Regions from separate parts of the Homo sapiens genome. Here regions 1, 2, 3 and 5 are each linked to region 4. Evidence: promoter capture Hi-C in 16 types of primary human blood cells and fetal thymus (Javierre and others, 2016). All regions are on one chromosome and are shown on one strand. Each heading gives the region's core, a stretch centred on a gene start or on the middle of the fragment in contact. The rest is flanking DNA. Distances are from core to core; before and after follow the strand shown.

Region 1 (4,295 bases), core at 1,361-3,860, 1.3 Mb after region 4:
TGAGGGAGGAGTTACAGCTTCAGCTAGGGGATGAGGCCCGGTGCATGGAGGACTTGGGCCTTAAAGTGGGACAGATTCGCAGCTTTCCAACACATGTGTTGCAACAGAACCCGTGGATTTAAGCAGTTCTGGTTACACATTCTGTTACACGCAAATGCTTATCAGTGACAAAAGGCAATATTCCTTGCCCTTTAGCCCCAGCTTGTTGATCCTGAAAGGTAAATTAGAAATAAAAATGGATTCACCAAATATCCAGAATGTGCTAGAGATATATAACCTAGTCTGAACAATCAGATCAGTCATTCTGCTAATTGGTAAAATATCCACAGGGGAGCCTGGGAGACAGCTGTTAAACTTGGTTACAGGTAGCATCAAACCATCCGCCAAAAATACCTCAATAATTCTATTGGTATTGGGAGAGGAGACACAAAAATATAGAAGTTGAAGAACAACAAAGTCTTTCAGTCTTTTTGTTTTAAAGACTCTTATTACCAAACAACTTAAGGAAGAACTCTATCAACATCATAGTTCCCTTGAGAATTATGTTATTATAGTATAGATTATTATTGAAAGAATTATTATATTGCACTGTGCTAAGGCTAGTTTAATTTGGAGCCAATAAATTAAAACAAATCTAGACCTTAGGTTTATAAAAATGTTTCCAAGGAATTAAAATGTAATTGACATGATTATCATTAAATAGTGCTGCCTTGGTTCCGGCATGGCAATGTAGAAAGAACAGTCAATGTATAAGGTATAAGATTTGGGTCTAGACCTCTAGGTAGTGTTTTGGGGTTTTTTTTTCTGTTTTTTTTTTTTTTTTTTTTTTTGGCAAGTCAGTTAACTTCTCTAGGTATCAGTTTCCTCATTTAATAGAGGAATTTAATAACAATAAAGAATATAGTCTGGGCGCAGTGTCTCATGCCTGTAATCCCAGCACTTTGGGAGGCTGAGACAGGTGGATCACTTGAGGTCAGGAGTTTGAGACCAGCCTGGCCAATATGGTGAAACCCTGTCTGTACTAAAAAAAAATACAAAAATTAGCTGGGCATGGTGGTGTGTGCCTATAATCTCAGTTACTTAGGAGGCTGAGGCAGGAGAATTGCTTGAATCTGGGAGGTTGAGGTTGCAGCAGTGAGACGAGATTGTGTGCCACCGCACTGCAGCCTGGGTGACAAAGCAAGACTCCATTTCAAAAACTTAATTAATTAATTAAACAAACCAAGTGATCCCTCAAATCCCACAGAGTTTAACAAGTAAGTCTTCTCAGTTCTGTTGGGCCCAAATGCCTCCTTTGTGCTGCCGTGGTTCTAAAGTGGCTTTAAGGAACTGCACGTCCCATGAGGTGTTAAGCATATAACGGGGAGGGGAAAGGAGCTTGGATGGCTGCTGGTTCTGATATTAGGCAGGATTCTCCATGTCATCTGGAGTCTTCTGTATGCAGTGGCCCAGAGCAAAAGGGAGGGAGGACGGTCAAACAGTCTGACTCTTACTGTGATTATTGCTACCCTAAGTTCCTATAGTGCTTTCTGAGTGGGCTGATTATTTGTTATTTATTGTGTGCCACCTTGAATTACCTTTCTGCACCTGTCATTTGAGAATAGTGTCTATGGCAGTCTTCAGTGCTATTCACCAAACATTCCATGCTCCTTGACAGTACAGATGGTAGAACTTCCCAGACCCTGTGGTTGGGGAAGGCGGGATCTGAGACTGGTTCTAGCTAACAATTAGTGGGCACAAATGATATTTAGCACTTCCAGATGGATTTTTTTGGGTGGGGGGCAGGTGGGGGACAGGGTCTGGCTCTGTTGCCTAGGCTGAAGTGCAGTGTCACAATCTTGGCTCACTGCAGCCTCCTCAAGCAATTCTCCCACCTCAGCCTCCCAGGTAGCAGGGATTACAGGCACCCGTCACCATGCTCAGCTATGTTTTTTTAATTTAATTTAATTTTATTTTATTTTGTAGAGATGAGGTTTTGCTACCCAGGGCCTCCCAAAATGCTGGGATTACAGGCATGAGCCACCAGGTGGACTATTTAATTGCCTGTGTAAGACCCTCCAGACATCCTTTTTCTCTCTGCCCATGACCAGCCATGTTCCAGATGGTAACTTTTTAGCCAGCCTGGATCCAGAAGTGAGAATGACGCTAATGGGAAGCAGAGCTCCCAACCAACCTGCCATAGACTTACAGCATGCATGAGAAGAAAGCTTTGTTCTTTTAAGGTGTTGGGATCTGGGGAGAGCTTATTACAGCAGCATGACCTAGCCAATCCTGACTAATAAAGGGCCATTTTGTGTTGTCATTTTTTGTTTCCCTAGTGCTCCAAATGACATGACATGACACTACTGACTGTTAAATAAAGGACCGACTGAATTGATCTACTCATCTCCCCAGGTAGAGTAGGGATTATCCATATAGCTATTTATCCTCCCTGGAGCACCTGCCCTAGTATCCTATATATAGCAAGTACTTAGTAAAGACCCTTGGATTGACATATGATCTTAAAAGTCCAAGACAGGGGCCAGGCACGGTGGCTCACACTTGTAATCCCAGCACTTTGGGAGGCTGATGCAGGAGGACCACTAGAGTCCAGGAGTTCAAGACCAGCTTGAGCAACATAGTGAGACCCCATCTCTACAAAAACAATCAAAAAACTTTAGCTGGGCATGGTGGCACATGGCTTTAGTCCCAGCCACTCAGGAGGCTGAGGTGGGAGAATTGCTCAAGTCTGGGAGGCCAAGGCTGCAGTGAACTGTGATTGTGTCACTGTACTCCAGCCTGGTCAACAGAGTGAGACTCTGTCCCTTATAAAAAAAAAATCCCAAGACACAACCCAACATCTGACCCACAGAAGATGAAGAATGTTATGCTATTCTCCAAATGGCATCCTAGTGAGTAGGGCTCACAGTCACAGGCCCTGAGGAATAGGGGCACCAGGCCATCTCCTTCTGCATCCATCAGCAAGCTCGATAGGGCTGCCTCTGATCCCTCCACCTCTTTGCAGGTATTAAGTGAAGCTTGGCCTGAGTCACTGCAACAGAATATAGAGCAGAGATGGGGCCAGAATTCGGAGCTGAGATGGGGCCAAAATAAGAAGACATGGCAGGGCAGACAAAAGCCCACCACAGGAGTATAGGTGTGGGGCAAAGTTTGAAGTGGGGCTCAGGGTCGGGTGGGGGCTAGGCTGGGGCAGGACCAGCGGAGCTCTAGAAGGTTTCTGTGTCATTATACTGCTGCGCGTTCCATCCCATGGCCCAGGTGGTTGGATTCTGTTCAGCGGAGCATGTGTGGAATGTATGATAGACCCTGACCAGGCAGACCTTTGCAGAAGCCCATTAACATTCTATAAATGGCAACAACCAGCACAGCAACAGGGACATGAATATTAACGCGCTAGTCTACGGTTCTGGCTCCCCCTTCCCCGCTTCCTCCAGCTGATCTAAACAGTATCCACAGACAGTTTCAATTTTGATTATACAGAGTGTAAATCATCTTCAGACTTGGATCTTCTCTTTGTCTAATACCCTGTTTTGAGGTGAGCCTTCTGGAGGAAAATTACAGAAGAGAAAAATATTTATCCATCACAAAATCGCCTTTGTAAAGTATTAACTCTAGTTATGCTGCTTGCCCGCTGGAATGTTTGGTGTCTCTCCAGGAAAAAGTTGAGACCCATCTGCAGGCCCTCTGAGGTCTTAACTATCAGGTTCCTACTTACTTCATCTCCTGTTACTACCTGCCACAAGTGGGGCACACCTGGCCGCTTACCTGAAGAGTCATGGCTTTCCTACCTGTACACATTATACTTTTTGCAGCCAGTACCCTTCCCTTCCCTCTTTGCTGCTGGAAGAACTCCTGTTGGAAAGCCTAGACTCAGCTCAAAGGATTCTGCTGGTTGATGCCTTCCCAGGCTCCCCAGGCAAAGGGGTGATCCTTCTTCTGTGCCACTCCCATCCATAGACCTATTGCAACACTGATCGCCCTGTCCTGGCCACATCTGTTGTTCTATTCTTTTCTCATAAGCCTTAATTTTGAAAGGAGAAAGGCTCCATTTTGGTCATCTTTGTTAAATTATTGTATCATTTTCTTCCTTCTCACAAAGATTATGAAATAACTAGGCCATAGTTGGAATCCAAAGGTCATTTTACTCAATGTATATGCTAACCACTGTCTTATCCTTTGGGATTGGAGACAGGGGCTGAGGGAAGGATGAAGCTGGCAATAATTTCCTATTGGAATTTTACCGTCTAAGCCCCCTCCTTGGGATTTTCTTTTCACATGAAACCTGGAGCAGGGGG
Region 2 (4,051 bases), core at 1,196-3,695, 1.2 Mb after region 4:
TTGGACTGCAAAGTCCTCAACTCAAGCAAGCTCCTTTAAAAGTGTTCTACACATAATTCTACTTCTTCGTTTTTTTTGTTTTTTTCTTTTTTTTGAGATGGACTCTCGCTCTTTCGCCCAGGCCTGAGTGCAGTGGCGCGATCTCGGCTCACTGCAAGCTCTGCCTCCCAGGTTTAAGTGATTCTCTTGCCTCAGTCTCCCAGGTAGCTGGGACTACAGGAGCGCACCACTACGTCCAGCTATTTTTTTTTTTTTTTTTTTTTGCATTTTTAGTAGAGACAGGGTTTCACCATGTTGGCCAGGGTGATCTTGATCTCTTGGTCTCGTGATCTGCCCGCCTCGGCCTCCCAAAGTGCTGGGATTACAGGCGTGAGCCACCGCACCTGGCCGGTCAATTCTTCTACTTCTTTTTTTTTTTTTTTTTTTTTTTTTTTGAGATGGAGTCTTGCCCTGTAGCCCAGGCTGGAGTGCAGTGGCACGATCTCAGCTCACTGCAACCTCCTACTCCCGGGTTCAAGCAATTCTCCGCCTCAGCCACCTGAGTAGCTGGGATTACAGGCACCCGCCACCACGCCCAGCTAATTTTTGTATTTTTAGTAGAGACGGGGTTTCACCATCTTGGCCAGGCTGGTCTTGAACTCCTGACATCGTGATCAGCCCACCTCGGCCTCCCAAAGTGCTGGGATTACAGGCTTGAGCCACCGCGCCCAGCCAATTCTTCTACTTCTTAATCCACTCACTCTCCAACCCACCATCATCTGGCTTCTCTTCTCACATACCTTGCAGGAAATGATATCACAAAAATCCATGATGATCTCCTAATTACCAAATATATATATTTTTTTCAGTCTTCATTCTGCCAAACTTCTCTGCTACACATAACTGCTGATCATGACCTCCATCTAAAACTCTCTTCCCTGCTGTTCCAGGGCACCATCATCTCCTGATTCTCCTCATACTTCTCTATTTTTTTCCTACCTCCTTATGCTCTCACATCCTCCATCCACACTTCAAAAGGTGGTAACCTCCAGTGGTCAATCCTGACCTGCTAACAAACACTTCTTGAGTTCTTCCATTCTCATGGTTTCACGTACCAACTACAGGCTGAAGACATCCACATCTGGATCTCTAGTTCAGCCCTCTCTGATAAGCTTCACGTTTGTATAATCTACTGTCCTTCCCTACTTGACTGGAAATTCCTTGAGACAAAGACTATGTATTTATTCATCTTTGTAAACCCAAGTGCCTAGCACAAAAAAAACACTCTATAAATATTTATTGAATAAAGAATAAATATTTTGTTGCATTAAATAATGGTGGCTAATGACGTTAGCTTTTTATTTCTTGGTGTTCTTTAATCATAAGAAGACCCAAATTGCAATATATTCAGGTATTACATTAAAAGATAAAAAGGATTCCTTACCACGTGTTCTAGTTCTTCAAAAGTTTTACAATTCAGCATGGCTTTTAACAAGCACTCAGACATCTTCCCTTCCTTCTTAATTTTCTGGATTGTACTATGAACTTTCTTTGCAACAGCCCTGAAAAGAGAAACTTTTGTAATATACCAAAACTGTATGTCAAAACTTTCTTTTCAAAGCTACCTCAAACTTACAGAAAAGTTGCAGGTAAAGTAAAAGGAACTTTATTGTCTCTGAACTGTTTGAGAATAAGTTAACATCCCTGCACTCCAACACTTTAGTGTGATTTCCTACAAATACAAATCTTCTACATAACCACAAAATAACCATCATTATCAGGTAATTAACACTAATATATTACTACCATCTAATGCAGAGCTCATTCAGGTTTTACCAACTGTCCCAATAATATCCTTTATAGTGGATTCAGTTAAGAATTATGGGTTACATGTAGTTGGCATGCAACTACAGTCTCCTTCAAGCTAAAACAATATTTTAGTCTCTCCTTGATTTTCTTCTCCTTGATAAGGCCTTGATGTTTTTGAACGCTACTGGACAGTTATTTTGTAGAATGTCCTGCAGCTTGGGTTTCTCTGATGTTTCCTCACAATTAAATACCGATGGAGCATCTTTGGCAGAAATATCATAGAAGTCATACTGTGTTCTTACTACACGTTATTAGGTGACAAATGATTTTGATTTGTCTCATTACTAATTAACTTTGATCATTTGATTAAGGTAGTATCTGTGGGTTTCTCCAAGACACAGGTACTCTTTATTCCTCTTGTAATTATAAGTATTTTGTGGAGAGGTACTTTGAGACTATATAATTATCCCATTCCTCATTAAACTTTGAATTTATTCACTGATTTATTTATATCACTATAGATTTAATGGTTTTTTATTTTACTTAGTGCTACAATCCATTGCTATCATTTATCTTAATGTTCAAATTTTTCCAGATTTGGCCAAAAGTAACCCCTTCAAGCTAGCTTCTGTGTCCTTTTGACATGTATCTGTCATTCTGCGAGCACTTCCTTATTCTCTGGCATATGATATTTCAGGCTTATCTTCTAGTTTCCCTGCCCCAGCCCTGGAATCAGAAGAATGATACTTAAAAACCAAGGTATAGGTACTAGATATGCTCATTGCTACTGGAGTATCACTGCTCAGGATGGGCACACCTAGCACCCATAATTGGTTTCCAAATACCATTCCCCACTAAAAAGAACCAGGATTCCATGTAGAAAAGTTGATTCCAGGAATCAATTTACAGGGATCACTAAACAACTAACGACAAAAGGAAGGGTGGGCACAGTAGTTCCCCCACTTTACAACAGGTTTTCACTGTGAATATACAATCCTGTTGTTACAGTTAATGCTTCTCATCCTATTGTATTACCTCCTATTTATAGAATCTGCCTAATAATGGTATTGCTAAAATGATGGGCAAAAGTTAGAGATGATAATATGATTTATTCAAAATGATCGATGGAAAAGAAAATTAAATCTACTTGTAAATTAAAAAAAAAAAACTAAAGGCAGAAGACTATAAATTAAAGAGAAGAATATAAATTAAAAAGAAGAATATGCAGTACTTAGATTACAACCTGTATGTCTTCTATAGTCATGGTAGCCCAAGACTGTTTTCAAGGGCTAAAGCCTACCAGGTCATTTTAACAAAAAGCCAATTCCTTTTGTCCTATTAGCCTGCATATAAGGAAGAAGAGAATTATCTTTAGAGAAAAATACAGAAAACTTTTCTTACTATCCAGAATCATACTCTTTAATTCACTTTTCAACAGTGAATTTAAAAATGTTTTACGTTGCAACCCAGTATACATACATATAGATGCTACATAATTGAAACATTTCATGAAACAATATTTGCCTTTACCACATAAATGTACTCTTGTATTTTCTATTCACTATTTCATTTTTTAAGTGGTATGACTTATTAAATTGGTTTTACTTCTCATGTAGGGGTAGCAATTAACAAATTGAAAATCAATGCTCTAGTTATAGAAAATGCTGAGCTCAAGAAAAAATAAAGATCATATCTCATTACCAGAAAGAAATTTCTGTATTATAGAAAAAGATCTCTTAAGTTCCAGTCAATGCCCCCACTTACTTCAAGGAATATTCACTCCTCTACTAATATTCAATGTATTCCCCTATTCATAGAAACCCAGAGAATGGAATTCTTTTGCAATAGAAGGGTTTTTTAAAGAAAAAGAAAATAATAATATTCTTGATATACAGCTCCTATTTGTCTCCCATACAACCAAATATTGTTAGACTACCCTTTAATTTTTTAAGCAAGCTTTTCTTGCTTGTGAGGCTTTCTCCAATTTCAGATCCAAAACCCTCAGACTTTCTTAATTACCTTGCCTTCAACCAAACAGAAAGCTTACTTCAGAATTTGCAAACTGCTGGCCTTCTAGGTGTGGTCAAGAGTGGTTTTGTTTGGCCTAGAAATTTGTTACGTAAAAACTCAAATTACCAGCTTCTTTTCAGAAACAGGAAGAACCAGCAAACTGGGCAGACAACCCTGCATGACAGTAATCTACTGGAGACGAGCAAGGGTTGCCCCTCTTAGACAGGGTTTGTAATCTCCAATTCTTATTCCC
Region 3 (3,858 bases), core at 1,028-3,527, 1.5 Mb before region 4:
GGGCTCGCGCCGCGAACGCGCATGCTCTGCCGAGGCCCGCCGCGGGCGCCAGCGCACCCTGATAGAGCCATCACGAGGCCCATTCAGCAGAGCTCCAGTGGCGCAATCGGTTAGCGCGCGGTACTTATACAGCAGTACATGCAGAGCAATGCCGAGGTTGTGAGTTCGAGCCTCACCTGGAGCAAGACCCTTTTGGATGTTCGCAACCCCTTTTGTGTATCTCGTTGCCAGAAGTAAGGAGTCTCTCTTTAGTCTTCTCCCTTCTTGTTTCTAACTGCTCTGCCGCACGTCCCCATTGGCCGCAAGCAGGAAGCAGCTCGCAGTGGACTCTCAATACCCCTTTTCCGAGCTACTTGTTGCCACCGCGCGACATCCAGCCGCTCGAACTCGGACATCCACCCACTGCGTCCTTCTAGTGCTCTTCTTAGGCGGGTCCTGTAACTGCACCTAGTCCCGGACCACAGGAGGGCGGATGGAGGTGGCGAGGCGCTCCACTGTGGCGGGGTCCCTAGCTGGCCGTGGGGATCGAATATTCTACAGGGCACTTCATTCTACAGTGTGAGCCCGAGCTCCCGGTGCGGAGATGAGGCCTGGGGCCGGGCCGCTGCCCCTCGCCCCCGGGCGGGGCCCAAGCACCGCCGACCATTCCCAGGCGTTGGGGCCCGAGGCCTAGCGCGGGGCGTCCGGGGAGCTGTGGGGAGACCTGGGGCGGCTGTTTTCCGCCCTTGTAACTCGTGATGAGTTCTTCCCCCTCGCTTCTGTCTGCAGAGACCAATAAGACTGCGGGCCCTTCTCCTCAACCCAGGCGCCCAGCCGTCCCTGGGCAGATTTGCAGTTTGGGGAATGTGCTCGGAGAGTTCCCCTCCCCATCATGTGCCCCTTCTCCTAGCGGCACGTCACAAATCCTGGTTCAGAAGTCCTCCCGGGGGCCGGGAAATCAGGCCAAGTGGTCGCCGGCGGATGCGCCCTGCCCCACATCGCCAGGGGGGGTAGGCAAAGCGGGCACAAGCTTAGTTAAGGGATGGAAAGCCTCCTGGACGTGTTCTTTCAAAGGGGAGATTTTCAGCTGTTTTCATGGACGGGATCGTTGCTAGATTTTGGGTGGAAATATTACCCCGCGAGTGGTGAAAATCAAGACCTAGAACGTTCAGAGAAATGGATGGAGGGCGGAGCTCTTGTCTATCTCCTGCGCTAGCCCAGGCTTCGGTTGCTCTCACCCATCCAGCCCCTCGATGCAGAACAGGAACCCTATGCCAACTGGAATGTGGGAAGGGCCGCCCACTTCCCCTCGTCCTGGTGCCGGGTTCCTCGCCAGCCCCGGGGAGGTCGCCTCTGGCTCACAGACATCCTCAGAGGCATGGGATAGGTCCCCTGTAGAAATGCAGCCCAGGCTTAGAAACAAATAAAATCTCTATCCATTAAAAAAGAATAATAATAATAATAAAAAAATAGGCGCGGTGGCTCACGCCTGTAATCCCGGCTTGGGAGGCTAAGGTCGGCGGATTTTTTTTTTTTTTTAATCACCCAGGAGTTTAAGACCAGCCTGGCCATCAGGGCGAAACCCCGTATCTACTAAAAATACAAAAATTAGCCGGGTGTGGTGGCGCATACCTGTAATCCCAGCTACTCGGGAGGCTGAGGTGAGAGGATCTCTTGGATTCGAGAGGCCGAGGTTGTAGTGAGCTGAGATGGCACCACTGCTCCAGCCTGGGCCAGACCTGTCTAAAAAAACAAAACAAAACAAAACAAAACAAAAAAAACTTGCGGCTGAGCGTGGTGGCTCACGCCTGTAATCCCAGCACTTTGGGAGGCCAAGGCGGGCGGATCACGAGGTCAGGAGACCATCCTGGCTAGCACTGTGAAACCCCGCCTCTACTAAAAATACAAAAAATTAGCCGGCTGTGGTGGCGTGCGCCTGTAATCCCAGCTACTCGGGAGGCTGAGGCAGGAGAATTGCTTGAACCTGGGAGGCGGAAATTGCAGTGAGCCGAGATCGCGCCACTGCACTCCAGCCTGGGCGACACAGCGAGACTCCGTCTCAAAAAAAAAAAAAAAAAAAAAAAAAAAGTATGCTTACTTTCTATAAAAAAAAAAACAAAAAACCCAACAGCTTTAATGGGATATAATTCCTATACCATACAACTCGCCCATTTTACAGTGTACAATGGATTTTAGTATATTCACAGATAAGTACAATCATCACCACAGTAAATTTTCAAACATTTTCATCACCTCAAGACTAGTTCTCACCCTCTCATCTTCCCATCCTGTTCCCCCACCAGCCCTAAGCAACCACAAATCCACTTTTTGTCTCTGTAGATTTCCCTAGTCTGGACTTTCCTACGAATGGAATTATACAGCATGTGGTCTTTTGTAATTGGCTTTTTCACTTTATAATGTTTTCAATATTCATCCATATTGTACCATATATCAGTGCTTCATTTCTTTTTATGACTGTATGACAGTCCATTGTATGGATTCTTTCCATTTTTGAATAATGGAGAAAGGGTTGGCATTTTCAAAAGGAAATTTGCCAAAAACTGCTTTGTAAGAGGTGATTAATTTTAAAATGCACAAACAGAAAAGTGATCAGACTCAGAAAGTGCAGGTTTCTAATCTTCACAGGTAACTCACTGACCACCAGGAGTCTCTTAGGTACTTCTGAGAGCTGAGCTCAAAGCAAGATCCCAAACAGACAACAATAAATGAATGAGAGATCATTCTGTCAACCTCCTATCCACAGAGAAATCCTTTCCACAAAACCCTAGCTCCTATTTGAAAACTGCTAGCATCAGAATTTCAGTTCCTCTCAAGGCAACTTATTCCATTTTCCAACAACTCTTATGGTTAGAACATTCTTCAATATTGTTTCTGTCCCTACTGGTTACTGCTGGAATGGCAGTGGCTTTAGGAACTGTTTTCCTGATAAGATGGTAGGGTTGGAAGGAAGCTAAACTAGTTCTTCTTTCCTTAATTTAGAAATCTTCAGCTACGAAATTATTGATTAGGCCATAAACAACAAACATACTCTGAGCCTATTTGTGGCCCAGTGTCTTAAAGTGATGTTGATAGAATTTTTTAAGGTTGTGGTGGGTGATAAAAATCAAGTGAGGCAGGGCATGGTGGCTCACACCGTAATTCCAACACTTTGGGAGGCTGAGGCAGAAGGATTGTTTGAGCCCAGGAGTTCCAGACCAGCCTGGGCAACATGGTGAAACCCTGTCTCTACAAAAAATACAAAAATTAACCCAGTGTGATGAGGCACGCCTGTAGTCTCAGCTACTTGGGAGGCTGAGGTGGGAGGCTCACCTGAGCCCAAGAGGTCGAGGCAGCAGTGAGCTGAGATTGCACCACTGCACTCCAGCCTGAGTGACTCTGTCTCAATTAAAAAAAAAAAAATCAAGTCAGAATATGGGAAAATGCTTTAAAAACCACAAAGTATTATGACATTTTTATTAGCATCAGACCACTGGCTTAGGCCTGACTATACTGTGTAGTGGCTTCAAGAAGGAAGTGGGTAAGTATGAAGTGACCAAACTGCGAAGGAAGCTTGAAGTGACAACTGAACAACCCCAGGCCCCAGCAGGAGAGAAACCTGATGTAACCCAGGCTGACCTTGGCTTTGTAGAATGCTTGGATGAAGAAGGGCTCATCAGAGCTAGGGGTGACACAGCCTGAAAGGAGTGCAGATTCAGTAGAATTTAGAAGAAGAGTGGAGCCAATCTGGAGGCAAATGTTTCTGACAAATGATAAGATGCAATTTTCATAGAGATAATTGTAAGTCTATGTTCAGTTCAAAGTTCCATGTGTGAGGATGCCTGGCTTGACAGCTGTTTGCATGTAAAAGATCTGGGGATT
Region 4 (4,299 bases), core at 533-3,032:
GCATGATATCAAAGTCCCTGGTTTATGCTCCTTTTGGGGCTGCCAGCACACGAATGATTTTATAGGTATGATTACAGAGTAGTGGGTTCTCAGAGTAACTAAGATCAGCAGTTCTCATCCCTCCTTTTCAGGGCCATGCCCCACTTAGGTTATGAATAACTTCAGACAGCTGATAACTTAGGCTAACTAAATCTAAAAACCTGTGTAAGTTAAAGTTTCATTCAAATCATAATTCTTGGCAGATGTGACTTAAATGTCTCATTTGTAAAGTTAATCCTATCAGGCTCAAACTATGCAGCACTGACTCTGGCACACATAGGGGTTAAACTAAAACAAAAAACAAAACAAGAAACAAAATATAAATTTGCAAATAAGTACACAGACTTAATGGGGTATCTCAGGAACTCAGGGCTGTAAAAGGTAAAAAGCCCTTTGGTCTTACATAATTATGAACGTATCTTTGGTATATATGTGGAAGATAAACTGGAAAAGCCTAATTATTTAATAAAGGTGGGGGAGGGAAGATTAATTATTGTTGAGTGTTAACTAACTGCCAGGTGCTTTTATCTTGTTTGTCTAATTTAAATTTTATATGGACTTAATAAAGTAGATATTACCATGCACATTTTACAGGTTGCCAAACTGTGGCTGTGGGAGGTTCTAAGCAACTGTTCCAGGTCACTTGTACAGTAAGCTGTATAGCAAAAAATCCAATTTGGTTCGGTTCCAAATACTGGACATACTCAACTTCGGATTTTTAATGTTAAAAAGGTATTTAGCGCTTTAATTAAAAACAACAAAAAACCCCTGCAAGATGCACAAATAAAATGTAAGGCCATCTCTGGTTTGTCAGGAGGTAGCTTTTATTAACCTTGATTGCTAATAAGTAGTTAAGAGTCAGAGAGACCTGGGTTGAGGTCTTAGCTCCTACACTTAACTGTGTCTCCGGGCCTCAGTTTCTTCATCTGCAAAAATGAAATGACACCATTTACCTTCTAGGGTTGTTGTTGTAAAGACAAAATGAGACAGCTTAACATTAAGACCATACAGTGCCTGGCACATAGTGACCACTCAATAAATGGCAGTTGCTATTATTTACGACAGGAATAATCTAGGTATGTTGCACACCGCTGAATGTCATTATGGAAGTCTTCCACAAAATGCCCCCTGGTATCAAAGGTAGAATGCTGCGTCAAATTTACCATAGATCAGATGCGCTACGACGCCCCCGCCCCCCTTAATCCCTTTCCATGTCGCAGCAAAATAATGGGCGATTGGGGGTAGGGGAGCAACACTAGTTTACTAGCCGACACTAGTAAAAAAAGGGGAAAAAAGACCCGAATAACAAGGACCTGCAAAGGTCCTACATCACCACGTTCCCACAGCCTTTATCCATCCATCTTTCATCCCCAAGAAGACAGTATGCAAGGCTAGGATGGGGGTGGGGTAGATAAATGGGTGTTCTCAGGAGAACCTATTCGTTTACCCCGTGCAACTCTCCACCCCAGGGATGAGGCGATCTGAATGCAACAGGGAGAGGGACCAGGTGACACGCACGCAGTGCCGGGACATTAGTCAAAAAGCGAGGACCTGGGGACTGAGGGGTGGGTGGCTGGGCGGGGGGAGAAAGGGGAGAAGGAAAGAGACCAGCACACCCCCCATACATACGCAAATTGAGAGAATCAGTCCGGCTCTGGACACAAACCAGTGAAGGCAGGCCGGAGAACCTGAAGCTCTCAGAGGGGAGCAGGTGTCACCGCAGGCAAGTCCAGCCGAAGTCTGCGTTCCGCAGCCCACAGAACGACAACTTACCCAGAGCCGCCTAGAGCTGGTTTGCAGCACGCCAATCTACGTAACCTCAATCTAGCACGAGCAACAGGCAGATTTCGCCATCTTTGTTGTGGTCAAGGAGTCTTCTTGGGTTCCTGGGTTCTTTAGTCTCGAAATATATAAGACTTTTCGTTCTTCGCTAGTCTTCTGAGCTCGAGATGAAGCACAGAAGGCTAAAACAATGAGGGACAGCGTTCCAGTAGCCCTGCCACAGCTCTCTCATCCTCTGGTCCGCCCTCACTCAAGATGGCTACCAGCAAGAATGGTGCAATGGCGTGACAGCTCGGCCCTGGTTGCCAAGGAGATGCGAGTACCGGAAATGCGGAATTCGGGGAGAGCGCGCATGCCTGGTCCGGTGGAGGGAGGGTGCCGGGCGTCACAGGTCCTGACAGGGAAGAAGTTGGCAGGTCCTGGCAGGGGACGAGCTGCGGCGGTGGCACCTCCGGGTGTGGAAGGCTCCAGTGAGATGGAGTCGCGAGTCGCGGACGCTGGGACCGGCGAGACCGCGCGAGCAGCGGGCGGGAGTCCGGCAGTTGGCTGCACCACTCGGGGGCCCGTAGTCTCGGCGCCCCTGGGAGCCGCCCGGTGGAAGCTCCTGCGGCAGGTAAGGGAGAACCTGCTCGCCTCACCTTTGCCTCTGGTCACTCCTCTCTCACGTACCGGGGGAGCGACTGTTCGCAGTTCTTTCCTCTTGGCAGCTCTGGGAGACCCTTCTCAGTTTGCCGGGAGCCACCTGCGAAGCTCCCCCTCGCTTCACCTAAGCGTCCCATCCAAGAGGAGGAATCATGTGGGGTTGGGTGGGGAGCGGGACAGCCAAGGCTGAGCTCCTGGGAAACTCAGATCGAAGTAGAAGAACCCCTTCTAGACATTTTTGTGCGTCTGGGGGACTTTTCCCCTTCTCGCCAGTCTCTGGTGCGCCCGCCGCTCCCCACTGCTCTTTTCCTGCTTCTGTTTTGCCTCCTTCCCCAGTTTCTTCTAGCTTAACTCCCAGCCTGGTTCGAGTTACCGATATTCGTCTGCACCCTCTGGCCCCGTCTTTTGCCCAGCGTGGTTGACTATGCCGGGACTGAGACACGGCATGCGTTCCCTCGGCATCTTCCGTACAGCGGAGCGTGCAAGGAGTAGGAAAAGCTGATACCCTCTCTCACTGAGGTCTCAAAGTTAAATGATTATCTTGTAGTTTGTAGTGATCAGCGAGATTCTCCGTGTCCAAGGTGGGCTAGTCAAAGTGTGTTCGTTTTTGAATGATGGTATCTTCTGGTACTTCAAAGTTTCTGCTGTTACTTACAACTCCACTCGTGCAAGCTTGACGGAAGTTCTGATTTATGATCACTCACATTCTTCGCTCACTTCTTGAAGTGAAGTCTGGTTATTGTTTTTGCATAGCAGTGTTATGCCTCTGCCTGAAGTTTTCTGCCGAAAACTTTACTCAGGAGGACATTTTTCCATTTCTGACAGTTGTGTTTGGAAAAGAGTTTCCCAGCTATTGCCACTTTACTTGAGATTGTGCTTTTAGTATTTTGGGGATCACTTTGTTTGCAGTTGCCTTGAGTCACCTTTTCATACAGTGGTCTTTTAGTGCTTTTAGAGTTATGAGTTAAGTAGATCATCAGAGTTAATTAAGATTTATTTGCTGATACATTGACAGTCTTTCCAGACCAGTAATGATCTGGTTTTGCTATTGTTACAAATGGTATTACAGGATAAGAAAATGCATGTCCTCACAGATCATCATAGGAAGTATCTATAATAAAGTAAATATCTAATTTTTTTTAATAGTGACCACTGAAATGAGATCTGGCGTGAGCTGGGGAGAGTGGACTCAACCCCCCTTCCCCCCTCCTTTTTTTTTGAAATGGAGTTTCCCTCTTGTTGCCCAGGCTGGACTGCAATGGCTGCCATCTCCGCTCACCACAACCTCCGCCTCTAGGGTTCAAATGATTCTCCTTCCTCAGTCTCCCCAGTAGCTGGGATTACAGGCATGCACCACCACGCCTGGCTAATTTTTTTTTTTTTTAAGTAGAGACGGGGTTTCTCCATGTTTGTCAAGCTGGTCTCGAACTCCCCACCTCAGGTGATCCACCCACCTCGGCTTCCCAAAGTACTGGGATTACAGGCATGAGCCACCGTGCCCGGCAACCCCCTTCTTTTTTTTTTTTTTTTTTCGATACAGAGCCTTACTGTGTTGCCCAGACGTGAGTGCAATGGCGCAATCTCGGCTCACTGCAGCCTCCGCCTCCCTGGTTCAAGCAATTCTCCCGTACTCAGCCTTCCGAATAGCTGGGATTACAGGTGCTCGCCATTACGCCCAGCTAATTTTTGTGTTTTTAGTAGAGACGGAGTTTCGCCATGTTGGCCAGGCTGGTCTCAAACTCCTGACCTCAGGTGATTCACTTGCCTCGCCTCCCGAAGTGCTGGGATTACAGGTATCAGCCACCATGCCTGCCACGCCCACCGCCCCCACCCTTC
Region 5 (4,162 bases), core at 783-3,282, 1.2 Mb after region 4:
TTGTTTTTGTATTTTCAGTAGAGACAGGGTTTCACCATCTTGGCCAGGCTCATATTGAACTCCTGACCTCGCGATCCACCCCCCTCAGCCTCCGAAAGTGCTGGGATTACAGGCGTGAGCCACCGCGCCCGGCCTGTCACTGGCTTTTTAAAAATGTTCACGTAATAGACATCTTTACATATCAGTACATATAGATATCGGTATCATATTTTAGAAAAGAAACAAAGAAAATTCTGTAAATATCTGTAAACAGACCTGTTTTGGATGCACCACCTACAGAATTCATCCTTCACTCCATCAGAAATATTGACCTTAACCGTCAGTACCTTCAAATTTTCTCCACGGTTAATTGCCAGAATCTGAGTGCAAACATAAGGCAAAGACTAATAATCCACAAAATATATGAAACAAATCAGGCGACTATGTAGCTGACAGCTATATGAATTTTTTACTCGTTTATTAAACAAGAATACATTTTAAAATAATCATTTACTTACACTTTTTTCAAGTAACATACCTCCCACATAAGGAAAACCCTAACATGCTCTTAGAAAATAAAATGCAGATACAAAGCCTATCTAACACATTTACAAGAAGAGACTTTGATGATCTAAAAATCTCATTTCAGATTCTACTAATTGAAAATTTTTGATTATCTGGAGTTGGAAGGGTATACTTTTTATAATTTGAAAAGATAACCTGTGCTAAGATAAATACAAACATGTAAAATCCTAGGTGCAATATTTAGTAGCTACAAATTGTTACCATCCATTGAGCATTACTAATTGTAGAGCCTATCTAAGCACTTTAAATATATTATCTCAAGTAATCCTTAGAGTCACCAGTAATGTGTGTATTATCTTCACTTTATATAATAATTTTTCTGAAACTAACTTGTTGCAAATCACAAAGCTAGCAAGTAGCAAAAAAAGAATTTAAACTTCAGATCAATCTGTCCATGCTCTTAATTAAAATATTAAAAGAACGACTGTCTTAAAACACATTAAAAACACTCCTTAAAGTATAAACAAAACCAAAACAAGCAGAAGAAAATAATAAATAATAGGGTAAAAATAAAATAGAGAATAGAAAAGCAATAAATATCAACAAAACCATAAGTTGGTTCTTTGAAGATATCAACAAAATTAACAGACCTTTCGCTAGACTAATCAAGAAAAACAACAGGAAACACTCAAACACCAAGATCAGGAACAAAAGAGAGGCCACTACTAAGGACCTTATAGAAATAAAAAAGATTATAAGAGATACCATGAGCAACTGTATGACAAATTAGATAACTAAGATAAAATGGACAAATTCCTAAAAGATACAAACTACCAAAAACAAACCAAAAAGAAACAGAAAATCTGAACACACCTATAAAAAGTATGGACACTGAATTAGTAATTTGAAAATTTCCCACAAATAAATGTCCAGGCCCAGATGGCACCACCATTGAATTCTACCAAACATTCTAAAAAGAATCAATATCCATTCTTCACAAACTTTCCAAAAGATATTAGAGAAGGAAAAACTTCACATATATTTCTATGAGGCCAGTATTACTCTGATACAAAAACCAGACAAGACTTCACAAGAAAACTACAAACCAATATCTCTTATGAATATAGATGTAAAAATCCTCAATAAAGTAATAGCAAACCACATCCAGAAATATATAAGAAGGATTATACACCAAGATCAACTAGAATCAATTCCAGGAATGCCCGGTTGATTTAACATCTAAAAAATCAATTAACCTAACACATTATATCAATAGAATAAATAACAAAAATCCTATGATCATCTCAATAGATGTGGAAAAACATCTGACAAAATCAGGTAGCCCTTCATGATAAAAAACACTCAAAAAACTTGGAAATATAAGGAAAGTTCTTTAATATGAGAAAGGGCTTGTGCACAGAAATCTCACAGCTAACATCATATTTACTGGTCAAAGACCAGGAACAAGACAAGCGTGTCCACTCTCACAACATTGTACTGAAGGTTCTAGCCAGGGAAAAGAAGGGAGGCCATCTATATTGGAAAGGAAGATGTAAAACTTTCTCTATTTGCAGCTAACATGATCTTATATATAGAAAATTCTAAGCAATCCACTACAAAACTATTAGAACTAATAAAGAGTTCAGCAAAGTTGCAGAACACAAGCTCAACAAATAAAATTAATTTATACATACTAGCAATAAACATTCTGAAAATAATTTTTTTTAATTCCATTTATGATACCACCAAAAGGAATAAAATACTTAGGAATAAATTTAACAAAAAAAGTTCACAACTTACACGGTTGACCTTTGAACAATACAGGTTTAAACTGCATGTGTTGACTTACACGTGGATTTTTTTCAACCAAACAGGGATTGAAAATACAGTAATTGCAGGATCTGAAACCCACGCATAAGGAGAGCTGATTTTTCATATACATGGGTTCTGCAGGGCCAACTCTGGGACTTGCATATACATAGATTTGGGTATATGCAGGGATCCTGGAATCAATCTCCTGTATATACCAAGGAACAACTGTACTATGAAAACTACAAAACATTGTTGAAAGAAATTAAAGAAGATCTAAATAAATACCCATGAACATCCCATGTTCAGGGATCAGAGGGCCTAATATTGCTAAGATGGCAACACTCCCCAAGTTGATTTACAAATTCAGTGAAATCCCTATCAAATCCCAATTGGCATGTTTTGTGGAAACTGGTGAACTAATTTTAAAACACATATAGTAATTCAAAGGACTGAGAATAGCCAAGTCAATTTTTAAAAATCAAAATAAACTTGGAAGATTCCCACTTCCCAATTTCAAAACTGACTACAAAGCCACAGTTATCAAGACAGTGGGGACTGGCATAAGGATAGACATACAATGGAATAGAATCGGAGTCCAGAAATAAACTTATACATATAGTGTCAACTGATTTTCAACAAGGGTACCAAGATAATTCAATGAAGAAAATCCAATCTTTTCAATAAATCATGAATAACTAGAACTCACCACATGCAAAAGAACAAAAGTGGACGGACCCCTACTTCACGCTATACATAAAAATTAACTCAAAATTGATCTTAGACCTTAATACAAGAACTAAAACTATAAAATTTCCATTAAAAAAGGAGAAAATTTTTATGACCTCAAGTCATAAAGCCTTCTTAGATATAACACCAAAAGTGTAATCAATAACAAAAAACTAGATTGAACTTCAACAAATTTTAGTTTTTGTGCCTCAAAGAATAGTATCAAGAAAGTGAAAAGAAAATGCACGGCATGGGACAAAAATTTTTGCAAATCATATGTCACATAAGGGTATCTAGAATATATTTAAAACTCCTACAGCTCAACAATAAGGAGACAAAACCCAATTTATTCATTTATTTATTTTCTTAAGAGATGGGGTTTCACCATGTTGGCCAGGCTGGTCTCGAACTCCTGACCTCAGGCGATCCGCCTGCCTCAACCTCCCAAAGTGCTTGGATTATAGGCGTGAGCCATCGCGCCTGGCCACAACCCAATTTAAAATGTACAAAAGATCTGAAGAGGTATTTGTTCAAAAATTATATACAAATGACTGATAAGTACATGAATAGATGCTCAGCATCATTAGAGAAATGCAAATCAAAACACAAAAAGATGGACAATAAATGTTGGGAGGGATGTAGAGAAATCGGAACCTTCACAAACCGCTGGTGAGAATGTAAAAATGGCATAGCCACTCTGGAAAATATGGCAGTTCCTCAAAAGGTTAAATGTAAAGCTACCATATAACACAGCAATTATACTCCTAGGTATATATCCAAGAGAAATAAAAACATATGTCCACACAAAAACTTAGACACGAATGTTCATAGCATTATTCATAATATCCAAAAAGTAGAAACAACCAAACTATTCACTGACTGATGAATGGATAAGTAAAATGTGGAGAATCCATATAATGTAATATTACGTAGCAATAAAAAGGAAAGGCATACTAATACATACCATAACAGACAAACTCTGAAACCATTATGCTAAGTGAAAGAAACCAGCGGCAAAAGTCTGCATATTGTATGATTCCTTTATATGAAATGACCAGAACAGACAAATCTATAGAGATAGAAAGTTGGCTGCCTAGAGCTTGATGCAAGGAAATATTTG

The links. Contacts are between HindIII fragments. The CHiCAGO score rates a contact against its expected background, and 5 or more counts as called.
Region 1: a contact is called between a fragment that was not itself captured here and the fragment with the promoter of PREPL in region 4, in 1 of 17 cell types (neutrophils). The highest score is 9.1, in neutrophils.
Region 2: a contact is called between a fragment that was not itself captured here and the fragment with the promoter of PREPL in region 4, in 1 of 17 cell types (monocytes). The highest score is 6.2, in monocytes.
Region 3: a fragment that was not itself captured here is called in contact with the fragment with the promoter of PREPL in region 4 in 5 of 17 cell types (activated CD4 T cells, non-activated CD4 T cells, total CD8 T cells and 2 more); the score reaches 8.9 in activated CD4 T cells.
Region 5: a contact is called between a fragment that was not itself captured here and the fragment with the promoter of PREPL in region 4, in 7 of 17 cell types (naive CD4 T cells, monocytes, activated CD4 T cells and 4 more). The highest score is 10.5, in naive CD4 T cells.

The regions. Positions count from the first base shown.
Region 1 is chr2:45,644,239-45,648,533 of GRCh38, forward strand. No RefSeq gene overlaps it. Among named protein-coding and RNA genes, the nearest start is that of PRKCE, 5.3 kb to the right of the region's middle. The HindIII fragment of the contact is 810 bases long and covers 2,206-3,015 here.
Region 2 is chr2:45,580,270-45,584,320 of GRCh38, forward strand. It overlaps SRBD1 (S1 RNA binding domain 1), which reads right to left. Exons shown (of 21, transcript NM_018079.5): 6 at 1,424-1,541. Among named protein-coding and RNA genes, the nearest start is that of SRBD1, 29 kb to the right of the region's middle. The HindIII fragment of the contact is 2,593 bases long and covers 1,150-3,742 here.
Region 3 is chr2:42,810,445-42,814,302 of GRCh38, forward strand. TRI-TAT2-1 (tRNA-Ile (anticodon TAT) 2-1) reads left to right here and starts at 92; the gene lies at 92-184. RefSeq lists silencers at 1-165, 456-745 and enhancers at 826-925, 956-1,035. The HindIII fragment of the contact is 2,540 bases long and covers 1,008-3,547 here.
Region 4 is chr2:44,359,712-44,364,010 of GRCh38, forward strand. PREPL (prolyl endopeptidase like) reads right to left here and starts at 1,783. Exons shown (of 14, transcript NM_001171613.2): 1 at 1,669-1,783. CAMKMT (calmodulin-lysine N-methyltransferase) reads left to right here and starts at 2,236. Exons shown (of 11, transcript NM_024766.5): 1 at 2,236-2,434. The coding sequence starts at 2,297. RefSeq lists enhancers at 1,155-2,049, 1,426-2,625, 1,862-2,331, 2,050-2,943. The HindIII fragment of the contact is 3,162 bases long and covers 1-3,133 here.
Region 5 is chr2:45,562,398-45,566,559 of GRCh38, forward strand. It overlaps SRBD1 (S1 RNA binding domain 1), which reads right to left. Exons shown (of 21, transcript NM_018079.5): 10 at 256-359. Among named protein-coding and RNA genes, the nearest start is that of SRBD1, 47 kb to the right of the region's middle. The HindIII fragment of the contact is 5,234 bases long and covers 1-4,162 here.